Linked DNA regions of Homo sapiens: region 2 is linked to region 1. Evidence: promoter capture Hi-C in human tissues and cell types (Jung and others, 2019). All regions are on one chromosome and are shown on one strand. The core of a region is centred on a gene start or on the middle of the fragment in contact, and the rest is flanking DNA. Distances in the headings are between cores, read along the strand shown. Region 1 holds the start of MSI2 (musashi RNA binding protein 2). Region 2 overlaps MSI2 (musashi RNA binding protein 2).

Region 1 (7,172 bases), core at 4,673-7,172:
GATGGAAACACGTCCTCCCACTAAGCATCAGACTTGTCCCTGCCCCCAGGTGGATGTTCAGAAGCCACCTTGGGATGGCTAACTTAGAGACGCATGGTTATCTCACAGGACTACTTGCCCAGCCTGTCCTGATACCCCGAAGGAACAGTGAATACCAGGCTTCAACAGTTCATGGCCAATGCTGTTTGAAATTTGAAATTCTTGGCAATCATCTCTGAGTGCTAAAATCCTACTGTTTATTCTCCTACTTACCTTGGGTTGCGCTCGACGAGGAAATGCAACTTTGGGGTCAATCTGGGAAAAAAAATAGAAAAGCAGGAGTCAATAAAGTACTTTAAGGAAAAAATATATGATTAATCACCTAATTATTAATCACTCATTTCTCAGGCTTATAATCCAGCTTTTAGTAACTTCTCAGGCAACTCAAAAGTTTCTTAAACTTTGATCTCAACTTTAACCATCCCTCCAACAGATCAGGTAACTAACATAGCTAGCTAGCCTTTCTGAAATGACCCACCATGCATTTCAGTGTGTGATGCTCTTAATAAACCAGATCTCATGTAATTCTTATTTAGGCAAGGGCTTCTTCTTCCAGACACTGAATATTAAATGGTATCTACATCTAATTTGCTATGCGTGGCTGGGAGAAAAGATGGGAGCATCATTATCATTGGGAAAAAAATCATAACCTGAAAATTAAATGTAAGTATTCTCTAGCAGTAGGTAATTGGATGGTATTTCTTCTCCCTGATGATAACTAAACAACACAGGAGGGAAAGGAGCTTCCAAAAATTTTTTAAATCAACAACATCCAAAAACTCCCCACAGACATCCAACACAGTGCTCTGCTTGAGTTAATTAATTCATTTTAGCAAAAGTAAAGTTACCCAGGATTAACCAAAAAGATCATCTGTTCTGTAGCTATACCTCAAAAGATAAAAAATAATTTTTTGAAGTAAAGAAAATGAAGCATGTGAGCTAAATCCACCTGGATTTTAAAAACAACAGGGAGTAAAAATCTATAAGCAACCTAAACCCAAATTAGAAAAGAAATCCCATCATGGGGAGGGCACCAAAAAAAAAAAAAAGTTACTGAATACAAGAAGTAGTCAGAATCTAGTGCAACAAGTAGGGAATTCCCCTACCCCAACCTCAATCCGAGTGGAAAAACATCCTCCAGTCCAAATCACACACTTGCAAAACGCATGATGCTCAATCAGGGTCTAGCTGTACAGCTCAGAACAGTTCTCCTGGAAGCATGTGAATCTAACAGGCTGATGTGAGGGAGGAAAAAAGTGACTGCACAGATAAAAAGAGGAGGAAAGAAATGTGAAAATATTCCCGTTGTCGGTTTTCATTGAATTTCTAAATGTCACAAATCTTTGGGTAAAAATGTAACACAGATAGTATAAACATGCTACCAGTTATTTATTTCCAGGCTTTGGCTTTCATATTAAAATGTTTTCCTTTTAAAAAGTAAATCTGAGCTTTGTTTTCACTTCTGCCATGAGAAGGAGCAGGGGAGAAAAGAGTAATGCTGTGGAGGAAAGTAGGGAGGTGGGGGTGGGGAGTGGGAAGCACGGAGGATAGTTCATTTGTTCCCTGACTTACATCACCTAGGGTCCCAGCCAGAAAGACATATGAGGATTTCCTGCTGTTATTACGGGGGCTTAAAGACCTAATAAAAGTCTGCATTGCATTCCCTACCTTTAAACATCACCTGAGAAATGAGAGATTACTTTTCAAAAACTAAAATAGACAAAAATCTCTGATCTAGAAAACTACCCTTTCATAAAGATTAACATTACTGCATCTACAGGTGTGTCCAGCACTGACTAGCGCTTGTCTACAAGAGAAATACAACAGGTGTGGATTTTCCATTCTGTTGACGTACGTAAGACAGAGGTGTCTTTTTATAAATACTCCCCAGAGGGTGTTTTTTTTAGTTGGCCGGCACACAATTGCAATCAGAAATCACCTTGTTTATGGGGTAACAGGTGTGGGGTATGTTGAGGGAGGTGCCAGGAGCTGGAAGAAGTAAGGTGCAATGAAGAAAGTGAAGTACTAAAGAAAATTTAAATCACAAAACGAAAAAGCCAATTCAGAACTCCTGGATGGTGTGTGGCCGTATCAGAGCATTATATCATGATCGAAGTTCCTCAGTGTGCAAAGTTTACACGCTGAGATCTCTGAAGGAGAGGAAGGGTCAAGTTAAGCATGGCAAATCCCAACCTTTTGCACATCCCTGTCAACTATTTTTTAAAAAACAAACAAAAAAGAAAACTACCAAAAATTAAAACATTAGTTAGTTAGGTACAGCTCTACTTACTGTATCTACAAGTCCTCTAGGAAAAGACTAGGGTACTATTTTGGATGTGAATGGCCGTTACCTAAACAAAGCTTTTAAGGTAACAGTAAACAAGATCCTCGTTTCCATGTCAATAAACCAACCGCTTCTGCCTCCTGCACTGAACGTTGAAACAAAGTCAAAAGCTAGGTTACACTAAATAATAGTGACCAAAACATGTCTATAAACAATCAGAGAGGGAAACTGCAGGCTTTGCACCTGATACAGAGGAATATGACCCACCAGCCACCACAGAAACCAAATACTGTTTCTCCCACCCAGGTAGCAAGAGGGGGTGGATGATAAATTCCCAAATTTGCCTTGAAAAGATTTTCCTCTTTAATTTCACTAGCTTTTTGAAATGGCTAGCCACGAAATCAAGGAGAGAAAAATTTTTCAGACATCTGTTATCATCCTACAAATCATTTCTGAAATTAAATTATCTAAAAGTACAAAAGGCTGGGCTGCATGCAAGCTATGACAAGTCCAGGACAATTAATAAAGCAACTAAGAGTGTAGGTGGGTTTCTTTCTTAGGAGAAGGCACGCATTCCTGATCTCTTTGATCAGAGAAAGAGGGTGAATTTGCAAAATCAATTCAAGTGCACCGAAGGTTGCCAGGTTTCTTTATTTGCTTTCCTTCTCTTCCATTCAATGTTAAAGCCAAAAGGGGCTTGAAAGATCACCTTGGTCCACTTATTTTACAGAAGAGGAAATTGAGACCCAGAGGTAGGGAATGTCTTGCTCACTTTCATAAGAGGCGGATGGAAGTAGAGCCCCATTTCTGGCCTTGTCCCACTACCCCATCACAGAGGAGTGAAGTTCCATGCAACCCAGCACTACAGCCCAATGTCATCTTAAGGCCTCTGTTTGGGGCAGATATATATTAATAAAAACCGTGGGGAAACTCTGGTAGACATAAAGGGAAGGGAGGAGAGGCAGGAAGCCCACACAGGGGCTAAATAAAACACTGCACACTCCCCCTCCCATTAAATGTATTGTTATATACAGACACTCTTTCTTCCCTTCCCCTTCTGACCTCTGCCTGGAGACTCTTCCCCCTTCTACTCTGGATTTTTAAAACTTGTGATGTATAAAAGTACCCATACTCAAATGAAAGGATCTGAGAAAGAAAAGGAAGGAAAAAAAAATCACTTTGAAACCCCCAGGCCTTATCAGCCTTAGATTTCATGCCATCTGGAGTCACCCCAGTGGATGCCCAGCTCAGCTCCGCCAGCGTCCCCTTCCCTTCCCAAAGCACATTCCAAATCCCAAGTGCCCCAAGAGAAACCTGTTGCCTGGACCTGTAATTAGCGCCCTCTCCCCTCCTTCCCACTGCTGTCCCCCTTGGCCACAAAGCAGGCTGTGCCTTCTCAAAGCTGATCCCCACAGCCACAGTTGGTAACGCGTGCTGTGCTTGGCTGACAAAGAAAAGTTGCATTTGCTCTCTGGTGGAGTTTCTCTGCACAGTCCCCAGGCCGGGAAGGCAGACTCTCCAGGAGCCGAACCCTCTCCTCCCCAAGCCTAACCTTGGCAGCCTCTGAAGCTGCAATGGGACAGGCTCTAAAAAGAAAACCCCAAAGCCAGCCACAGCAGCAAACTTTTGAGCCAACTCGCTAGCTCAGTTTAAAACTACCCAGTTCTAGCACAGAAGCAAAAGAAGGCACTGTCCCTTTAAATGGGGCTGTCAATGCCCAGATCGTTCCTGAAAAGGGGCGAACAACAACAACAAAAAGCAACCTACCGTCTTGGAATCTAACTCATGGTGGGGCTGACCTAATACTTTATCTACACTTGCTGGGTCTGCGAACGTGACGAAACCGAAGCCTCTGAAAGGAGACAAAGAGGGAGAAAAACAAACAAGAAAATGTGACACCATTGAAAGCAACCAGGAGTGAGACCTAAGGCTGAATGAGGAGCAAAAGTTGCCCCCCACGCACCCCCACCTCCCACTCCCCTCCTCCAATTCCCCTCCTGCCTACAGCCCTCCACCTCGCAAGAAAAAACATCAAGGTTAACGGGGGAAGTGGAACGGGGGCAGGGAGGGTGGAGGTAACTTGGAAAATGCTGGTGCCTCCACTCTTTGGCCACCTCAGTTTCCTCTCCTCCTCCCCTTCCCTTTCTTAACGCTTTGTTTTATTCCGAAGAAAGCCCGGCACTTAGAAGAGATTTACCACCATCTTTCTAAGAGGGATCTTAAGAGTTTGGGGAGCTGGGAGTGTGGGGGAAACACACATTAAGATCAAAAGAAAAAAAAAAACTATGCGAAAGTAAATGAAGCTGAATGTCATTTTAAACAGAGAAAAAGAAGCGACGGGAAAATGACTTAAAAGCAGAGAGATGGGTATCTCTGTATCCAGAGTTCAGCTCCAATTAACAATAACCTCTGGGGTTACTAGGGGGCGGTGGGGGTGGTATAGAGCGCCGTTCGAGATCAGCCACGCGCCTGAGCCCCATTCTAATCCGCTTAGCTACTTCCGAAGACACCTCCAAAAATAAAACTTAAACTTTGTTCTAAAATAAAGACAAAATCCAGAAGGGAATGGTTTACCTGGAGCGTTTCGTAGTGGGATCTCTCATGACCATACATTCTCTAATTTCTCCAAATTTGCTAAAATAGTCTCTAAGGCTATCTGTAGAGAGAGAAAGAGAGAGATGGGGGGGGGAGAGAAGGTGTGGAAAAAAAAAGCAATGCAAATTTTGATCAAGGACAAAATCCAAAAGTAGTTTTCTGTTGTTATTCTGTTTTGTTTTTGCATTTTTTGCACACGCGGGGGAAATTCGGCAACAGAGGTCGCATAGAGGGCTCAGAAAGGATTTGCTATTTAAAAAAAATAACCTTGCACAGGAGAAGTGGGGAGCCAATGGCGGGGGGGGGGGGGCTCCTACACCGGGATAACAAAGAGCAATAAAGAAGCCAAGAAGGGGGGGACCCAGGCGTCCCCCCCTCCCTCCCTTACCTGGTGAGGTCTGCCAGCTCAGTCCACCGATAAACATTTTACTAGAGGGAGAAAACATAACAGAAGTGAGCACCGATGTCAGATCGGCCATTTTGACGTGTAACTTACAAAAGCTAAAAGGAAAGCGGGGGGGAGCGAGCGAGCGAGAGCCGGGAGGTGGGGTGGGGGAGAAGGTGACGGCGAAATGCAATCCAAAGGTGTGTAACTTCCACGGGGGGGGCGCGCGGGAGAGGCGGGGGGGCGCGGGAGATGCCCGGCTCCGCGCACCGCCGTCCCCGCCGCTGCAAGGAGAGCGAGCCCAAGGCGGCGCGGTGGGCAGCGGCTGGAAACTTACCCGGGGTCGTGCTGGGAGTCGTTGGCGCTGCCCGAGGTGCCTTGGCTCCCATTTGCCTCCATATCTGAGCCCCCCCGCCCCCCCACCCCCAAAAAACCAAGCCCCACAGCGATCGGAGCGGAGCGGCGGCCGGCTCCGAGCCCCGAGATCTCCGCTCCCTCCTCCCCCTCCTCCTCCCCCCCGCCCGGGCTCCTCCGAATCTCTCTGCGAGCGGCGGAGCCGGGGCAGCGGCGAGAGCCGTCACACGTGGGCTCGGCTTAGCTCAGCCCCGCTGCCTCGCACACCCCCCCGTCCCCGCCCCCCCGGCCCATCCCCACCTCTCCCCCTCCTCCTCCCCACCCCCATCTCCTCCTCCTCCTCCCCCTCCTCCCCGGCGCACGTGGGGCGGAGTTCTAGAACGTCGTGTAACCAATGCCGGTGACGTCACGCACCCCCGTGCGGCCCCCGCCTGCCCGCGCGCGCACACTCGGCCCCCCACGGCCGGACCCACAAGGGTGGCGCGCGAACCCCGCGGGCGGAGGGGACCCCGCCTCCGGGCCGGCAGGGCGCAGGGCGAGGGGGAGCGCACCCCGACTTCCCTGGATCACATGGGCTGCGGGGGGCGGGTGGATCGGGGGAGGGGAGGCGCGGGGAGCTTGCTGCGGCTCCTCACCCGGACCTGGGAGAAGACGCCCCCCACCCTCTCTAGTTCGCCCTCTCCATTCAAGTTTGCCGGCCCCTGCCGCCGAGATCCGGGAATGGCACCAGCCGCCCGCCCTCCGCTGTGCCCTGTTTCCAGCCACCGCTCAGAAATTTAGGTCAAGGACGTCGGGAGCAAACCCACACCCTGGCGCTCCTTTGGCGGCCCCCGAGACGCCCCAGGATCGGGGGGCTTCAGGATGGCGGAGACCCTCCTGCACAAACACCAGCCACAAGTTTTATTTTCCTTTTGCGCTGGAAGTTCTCTCTGGCTCTGGCTCCACACCGGCACGTCTTGCGCGGTTCCCCGCCCTTCCCCAGTAGAGGTACCAATCCGTGCCCGGGAAAGGTTATTTTGGAACTTTGAGAAACTGACGCGATTCCAGTGGCGAGAAAGTGCCGAAGAAAGGGTTTCCGCGTTAATCATACAGTGTTTTAAAAATGTAATAAGATAGGTTATAGGAGTCAAGGTCACATGATTGAGGTTCAAAGCAAATGTTTGTATATAACGAGAAGTACTTTTGGGGTGTCTCTGGGATGGATGGGAAGGGTGGTTATTTCAGGAAACCCCTGTGTAATCCGTTCGTTATATATTTTATTTCTCACCCAGCCTTTGTATGCCAGGATAGTAAAGTGCATGATACTGAAATAGCCCAAGACCCCTCACGACCTGCAGAGGTAGCTAGGGTGGCAGAAGGCTTCAGAATCACTCCCACCTTAGCAGCAGTAGTATTGTGCAGCACGGGTTCTGGCATACAGTAGGTGCTTAATAAATGCGGTTTCATACCTTCATGCACTGAAAACTCCAAAAAGACAATGTCTGTAGCCTTCCAAAGGCATCGCATGAAAGTTTC
Region 2 (7,172 bases), core at 1,697-4,196, 270 kb before region 1:
TCTCCCTCTGCCCTCTCCTGATCAAGAGCACTTCTGGATAAACCTCCCACTTGCTAATCCCTTCCTAGAGTTGCTTCCCAGGGAACCCAACCTGCAACAACTGCCCATTCCCTCCCCTAGTCACAAAAACAGCAAAGGAATTCATCTTGAACATTCTCACAGTTAAAAAGCTAAAGGCCAGAAACATACTTCAGGTCCTGGGGCTCATCAATCCCAGGTCTCTTATTTTTTAGAGGAAGAACCTGAGATGCTCAGAGGTCAGGGAATGTGCCCCCAGGAAAAATGTCATGGGAGCAGCAGAAGCTGGAGGAAGGCCCATCTGCAAGGAGAAAGGTGAGAGCCCCCACATCTCCAGGGCTCCACCCACTGTGAGTCAAAGACTGAACGTGGGACCCTCTTCCTGCTTGCAGGGTGGAAGACATACATTGCGGGAGGCTCATTCTCTCCTAGGTCCTGGGTTCTCTCCCATGGCACTAGTGAGCCCCAGGCTGGTGCTCCTGTGGATGGGAGATACAAGCTGCCGCCATGCAGATGGAACTGAGGGCATCCCTGCCCCAACAGAGACCAACAGGGAGCAGGGACAGGAGGTGACCAGTGGGGTCAAGGAGTGGAAATTCTGCCCTGACCTGTGGCTCCTAACAGCAAGTGGAGACTGAATGGGCCCTGGGAGCCTGGCCCACCTGACGCTCATCAGATGTTAAGCCCAGTTCCCTGTGGTTATCCCCGAGCAGCAAATGTCACACAGCTCATGTCACACAGCTCCAAGGACACACAGGTAGCTGTCAAAATTCCTGGGGTAAGGATGAGTTGAGGCCCCAGGCTGCCCCACAGGGCTGGGCTAGGAGTCTGAGGACAAGTGCTGAGCATGTGCTGTGACAACACCTCTGGGTCGATGGTCTGGGCCTCTTTAAGAAGAGAGCTGGAGGCGGCGCCAGCCAGGGAGATGTCCTCAACTTCTGCCACTGCAGCACTTTCCTCTTGATAAGATCATGGACAGCAGGAACCGAGGAGGTGAAGGTAAGTTTGGGGCAAGGTGGCTGCATGAGGATTTTACTTCCTTGTGCTTATCACCTGACTCCAAATGTGCACTCCATCAGGCCACAGATGTGGGGCCGGCTCGCTCCATATATATGATCTGTGCCTCTGCTGTGATATGTTCTTCTTTTTGAAAAACAAAAATTTTTTTTCACTCTCTTCAATGTTCTAAATGCAGTGAAGTATTACACCAACTTTAGCACCCAGTTCAAAGAGAAATGCCTCCTCCGGTATCTTGAGGGGTTGGAACGTGTGTATGGGCCGCTGCTCCCACCCACACAGAAACGACATTGCAGAGTGGGAGGGCCCTGGATGAGAGGGAGGGCAGTGGGATGGCGGCTCTTCCCTGCTGAGGCTTCCTGGCATGTCTCTGCCCTCCACAGGCTGCAGCCCCTCAGGCCAGCTTCTCAATCATCTTTGAATAGGAGGCCCTGCCTTTCCTCTAGTTCTGGGCTCCACACATTTTAGAGTTGGTCCTGCCCCCACTGCAGGCATCTTCAGCTCTGGCAGGTCCGAGGGTGCTAGCAGAGGTTCTGGCTTGGCTGGGGGCAGGAGTGTGCATGCACCAAGGCCCTGCCCACGCTCCTTCCTGCCAGTGCCCACCAGGACTCCTGGAGAGCCAGCAATGATGTCCCGAAGCCATTCTGAGCAGCGGGCCTTCCAACAGACCATCCTCCACCTCACAACGGGCAAAAAACTCTTCCCACGCCCGTCCCAGACGAACCGCCACCCCATCTCTGCGGCCCAGCACTTTCCTTTCTCCCTTTTGGAAAAAGGGAAGAGGCTTCACCCACAGCAACAGGGATCTGGTTAAAAATAAGAGAGGACTTTTCCCGGCACATCCTCTGGGCCTTCACCCAGAAGTCCAAAGTCCGGTGTTTCAACCCCACCTCTGCCATGACCAGCCCTCTCCCTGCCCGGCTCTGAGAGTTAATGAGACGATACCAGTGTGAGCCCCCAGCACAGGGCTTGACACACAGCAGATCAAAAAATACTTTCACTGATTTTCAAAATAAAAGGACAACAGTATCACCTGGGGGCAACTCTGGAATCTCCCAGGACTATGAATTCTAACACTGAACACCAGGTGCCAAACTCAAATGGGCATCACCCACCCTGAAAATAAATAGCTGGCAGTGCTCTTTTTAACAAATGCATTCCCATCTGGACACAGCAGAGAAACAGCAGAATTTGAAATCAATAGTCCTGAGACCCTGCTCAGCCATGGGTCTCTCAGTTGCCTCCTCTGAGCCTTGGTTATTTTTCCAACCGGACGGAGGTGATGATAACGCTAATAATAAGAGCTAACATTTACGCACAATTGACTAGATGCTTGGCATTACACTCTCCGAGCAATCCTGTGAGGAGGTTCTATGATTACCCCCATCCTACAGATGAATAAACTGAGGCATAAAGAAGTTAAGTGATTTTTCCCAATGTCACAACAACCCTCCAGGGGCTGCTGTGAAGGTCACATTAGGAGATGCATCTGGAAGTCCGGCTTGGAAACCATAAAGCTAGATTGACAGAATGTGGATGATGATGGAGGATAATCCTCAATTGCCCACCACGGGCACCACCTTCATCTCACTCACTGGGCTCTCACTCCCCAGCAATGCAGTGGACAAAATCGATCATTCCACACCTGCATGCCCCTCCTTTCTCTCCCTGCTTCTCCACTGCTCCCCACCCTCCACCCCCTGCCATCTCTTCCCTCCATAAATACCACTTGACACCACTGTTGTGCACCCAATGCTCCATTCTCCCATTCTGAGGATGCTGTAGAGGGATGCATTTGAAGCCAGATTACCAGACGCACTCAGGATATCCCCCTCCTTCTCCCAGCCCCGCCAGCAATGATTCCCACTCCACTCCTTCTTGCCTTTCACTCACTCTGCCTTCTCCAAACAGGAAAGACATACAGTCAGTGCTGGGTAACTGTTTCTAATCACAGGTGACAGCAGGAATGTAAACAACACAGGAAACATCTAAATGCGATCCAAGTGGCAAGGAAATGCTGCTCACTCACAGGCTCCCTCCCTTGAGGGCACCAGCACACCATTTCCTGCCACCCCCTTAGGAAGCTCTGCTCATTAACACCCTGTTAATAGGAACCCCAGAAACCTGAGCTTCCGGAGAACAGAACACTAAGTCATCACCTCCTTTGACTCTGCTACCTCCAGGGAGGACTTTTCTAGATGCCTCCAATTTTTCTGTTTAAAGCAATAAATTTAATGTGTTCTTTTTGGGGAAGGAAGAGACTAAGGGCAGGGCCAGAGACCCTTTTGAGAATTTGTCCAAACCTAGGGATCTTCACCCAAGAAAAGTATAAACATATGACATTTTGCATGTCATTGCAGAGGTTCATAGACTCCAGGTTAAGACCCATTTTTTGTAAAGTGGATGGGACAGAAGCAGCACAGGGAAAAACACAATTAAGTACAGATGCCCTCTACACATTCCAGAGGCCCCACGGAGCATTCCCAAGGCTGTAATCACTACACACCCAACGAACCTACAATGTTTTATTTTGATTTTTTGGCTCTTTAGATTGACAGTCTGCTCCTAAAGAACCTCCTTCAATACAAATTGATAACTCAATTGAGTCACTGCTGTGAATAATTTCCACTTGGATCGCTTAGTGCCGAGGTTAGCAAGGGACCCAGAAAGGCAGGATTAGAGAGGTACATCTGAATATGTGTGTCAGGGATGGCTGCATAACTAAACAGGAGTTCCTAGGCCAGAAGGAAATGGTTTTTCAGCTATCCAGTACTGGAACTCTTTGTGCTACTGGGACTCTCCGTGAATAAAGATCTTCAATGGATGGTCACCTCTACCTGCTTGACTCTGGACTCTTCACTGTATCTTTTGTCAGTGGGACTGGGGATGACAGACAGAGAGGCCAGGAGAGGGTGAACGCAACCCTCTTACACTGGGGTAATCTTACCTCTGTGCCTGTTGGTAGTTTTATCAAACATCAGCATTGCATCTTCCACCTGCAAAACAAATATAGAATACAGGCTGCCTTAGGAATTTTAAGAAAGTACACAAAACATTATATGCATGTCGGGGGGTGAGGGGGTAGTTTCCATTACAGAAGTAATAGTTGCTTATCAAAAAATATTTGAAAATGCAAAAAAGTAGAAAGAAAAAAAAACAGTGGTCTTTCCACTCCACACCGTTGTATACAGTTAACATTTTATATAGTTCCCTTTAGTGTCTGCTTTTTATTTTTTGAGACAGGGTCTCACTCTGTCACCCAGGCTAGAGTGCAGTGGCACCATCACGGCTCACTGCAGTCTCGACCTCCTGAGCTCAAGCAATCCTCCTGCCTCAGCTTCCTGAGTAGCTGGGACTACAGGCATGTACCATCATGCCCAGTTATTTTATTTTATTTTTTTAGAGACAGGGTCCCACTATGTTGCTCAGACTGGTCTTGAACTCCTGGGCTCAAGTGATCCTCCTGCAGCAGCCTTTCAAAGCGCTGAGATTATAGGTGTGAGCCACTGCTCCAGGCCTGGAGTATTTTTTTTCTAAAGAAAGAAAAAACTATGACTATTTCAATATAGTTTAAATCATATAGTATATGGAATTTGTCCTTTTGTTAACCTGTAACATTACAATATGGCAAACAATTTCCAGGTTAGTATATCATGTATACTACTATCTTGACCGATGCATATTTCCCAGTGTAAGAAGCCATAGCTTACTTAATTATTGCCCTTCTAATAGACATGTGAATTGTTTTTAGTGATAAACAGTGAAGCTTGAACATCCTGATTGTTATGGGCTCAACTGTGTCTCCCAAAATTCATAGTTGAAGTCCTAACCCCCAGGACCTCAAAATGTGACCGTATTTGGAGAGAGGTTCTTCAAAGAAGTAATTAATTTAAAATGAGATCATTAGGGTGGGCCCTAATCCAATATGACTGGTGTCCTTATCAGAAGAGATTAGGACACAAACACAAACAGGGAAGACCATGTGCCAACACAGGGAGAAGACTGCAAGCCAAGGAGAGAGGCCTCAGAAGAAACCAACCCTGCCACACCTTGATCTTGAACTTCTAGCCTCCAGAATTGTGAGAAAATACATTTCTGTTGTTTTAGCCCTCCAATCTGCGTTACTTTATTATGGCAGTACTAGCAAACAAATACACTGATGCTAGGACCTTTTTAAAAACATCAAAGAGAAGAACATAATAAAATAGCAAAGGCGTCCTCTGTCTCTCTTGCTAATCCCTTCCAGACCCCTCCCACGCATCCTGTAACCCCTTCTGCATGTTTCTGGCAATAAGATTTCAGGGTCCACACTCAACTCCCACGTAGAGCTCAAGGAACTCACACTTAATGAACCAGATTCCGCTCTGGAATGCACTCCTTTTATGAGTATTTATGACCCACTCCTTTATCCCACAGAGCACACATCTTTAGCACAGGTGTTTGTCCTCACCCTTCAGCTACGCACCGGGGGAGGGCACCTGGTCTGACCAGTGTGCAGCCTACTCTCTTCATTTACTTTGTGCTCAAGGTTGATGGTAAAAATACAACCCAGTCCGTGTGGCTGTAGGGGGGGTAAAACTGTTAGCGGGGGGCCCTGTCCTCAGAGCAATTTCACTGTGTGCCTGTGGCTAAGAAGGACTGAGCACCGTTGATGTGCACTCAAAGGCTCACAAATGAGCTTGGGGGCTGGCGCTAATCCCTTTGAGAAAAGGAATCGTGGGCTATTCATGCCTCACTCCTCCCAGACTACAATCTCCAATGGAGGGGAAGACGCTGGGCAAAGCAATAAACCAAGGTTTAAAATGGTGCCTGCAGACAAATCAAACGTATTTTTCTAGATGCGATCAAATGTAATAGGGGGAAGAGCAAAGTCAAGGTAAGAATGGAAGATGGGGGTAGGCAAGCCGGTCATAAACCTCAAAGGGACTGGCCTGGCTTAAAAATCTCTTCTCAAGTCAGGGCCCCCTTTTGTTGCTAAGCAACCAAGCCTGAACAAACAGGCTCCTGGGGCCTTCCCCTTCTGCTCCCCATTTCTGAAGTCAGTTACTGGGAGGAAAATGGCCTGGCATGGTGGCTCCTCCAGCAGGCAGCTGCCCCCTCTCTCCCAGGCACCAGGATGATGGGAGTGGGCAATGCTAGTTTGGAGATCCCCATGCCCATCCCAGGCAGGACAAACTCCTTTTGGGCAGGCTTCAAGAGCCCCCGCCGACGGTAACCTGCTGGGGCCACACACACAACAGCCGTTCCACCTCCCGTGCACCACACAGGCAAAATCACCATAAGATCAACTGGTGTGTTTGTACACAGAGCAGTCACACTCGAGCATATGGTGATATGAGCATATCTCAGACTCAGACCCTGGGACTCAATAGGAATTCGAATGCCTGGGGTGTGGGTGGGTGGGTGGGGGATGAGTCCTGCCAGGTATCACGCAGGTAAATGTGACATCTGTTTTGCACCCATCTCCATATTTTCTAAGACTTTTGCCAAATCCTTATTTTGAACTGAAAATGCCTAACAGTAAGGAAAACAGCTGCCCTTCTGTGCTGGCCATGTTTTGGTACTGGGACTCAGATTCCCTTAGGAAATAAATGTTTTGGATTTTTTTTAAAACGTATTTTCAAAACCTCCTTTCAACAGTGCATAATTGGCTCTCCTTTTCCTTCCTAAGTTTGGACGTTTTCTAATAGCGCCCTCTCAACATTCGCTCCACCCTGGTGAGCGTGGGGGAGGATCTGTATATGTTTTTAGGGCAACCATTGTCATAAAGAATACAGCTCTTTCCTCTGTAGTCCGGCTGTACAATGGGGCTCGCAAAGACCTCCTGAATAGATAAAGTGTCAGGACGAAAGAAAAATTCTATTAACACGTTACAAAATACAACATCTAAGAAGGAGCTAGAGAGGAAAGAGAAACGGGAGAAAAATCAATATGGATAAGTCCCAGTGCTTGGGGGTAGAAAACTTTTCAGCAATTGCAAAATACTTATTAATTCAGAGAAGCCATCAATGCGATGGAAATCTGGCAGAACAGCAAGAGCTGAAACTAGAAGAATTTGAATATACAAAGACTGAATAGAATGAAAAACACAGTCTCACATACGAGACTGTTTCTCACGGTTCTATGTGAATCAAACA

The links. The method cuts DNA at HindIII sites, captures the fragments that hold promoters and counts their contacts. A contact is called where the count stands out against the background at its distance.
Region 2: a fragment that was not itself captured here is called in contact with the fragment with the promoter of MSI2 in region 1 in 1 of the 25 tissues and cell types used here (spleen).

Annotation. Positions count from the first base shown.
Region 1 is chr17:57,255,273-57,262,444 of GRCh38, reverse strand. It overlaps MSI2 (musashi RNA binding protein 2), which reads right to left and starts at 5,922. Exons shown (of 14, transcript NM_138962.4): 1 at 5,641-5,922; 2 at 5,307-5,347; 3 at 4,898-4,979; 4 at 4,091-4,175; 5 at 253-294. The coding sequence starts at 5,702. It overlaps LOC101927510 (a long non-coding RNA gene), which reads left to right and starts at 5,449. Exons shown (of 3, transcript XR_007065860.1): 1 at 5,449-5,503. RefSeq lists enhancers at 2,160-2,683, 3,670-3,759 and a silencer at 5,738-6,367. The HindIII fragment of the contact is 35,888 bases long and covers 893-7,172 here.
Region 2 is chr17:57,526,535-57,533,706 of GRCh38, reverse strand. It overlaps MSI2 (musashi RNA binding protein 2), which reads right to left. Exons shown (of 14, transcript NM_138962.4): 7 at 3,983-4,031. Among named protein-coding and RNA genes, the nearest start is that of MSI2-AS1, 78 kb to the left of the region's middle. RefSeq lists an enhancer at 5,067-5,899. The HindIII fragment of the contact is 6,344 bases long and covers 1-6,118 here.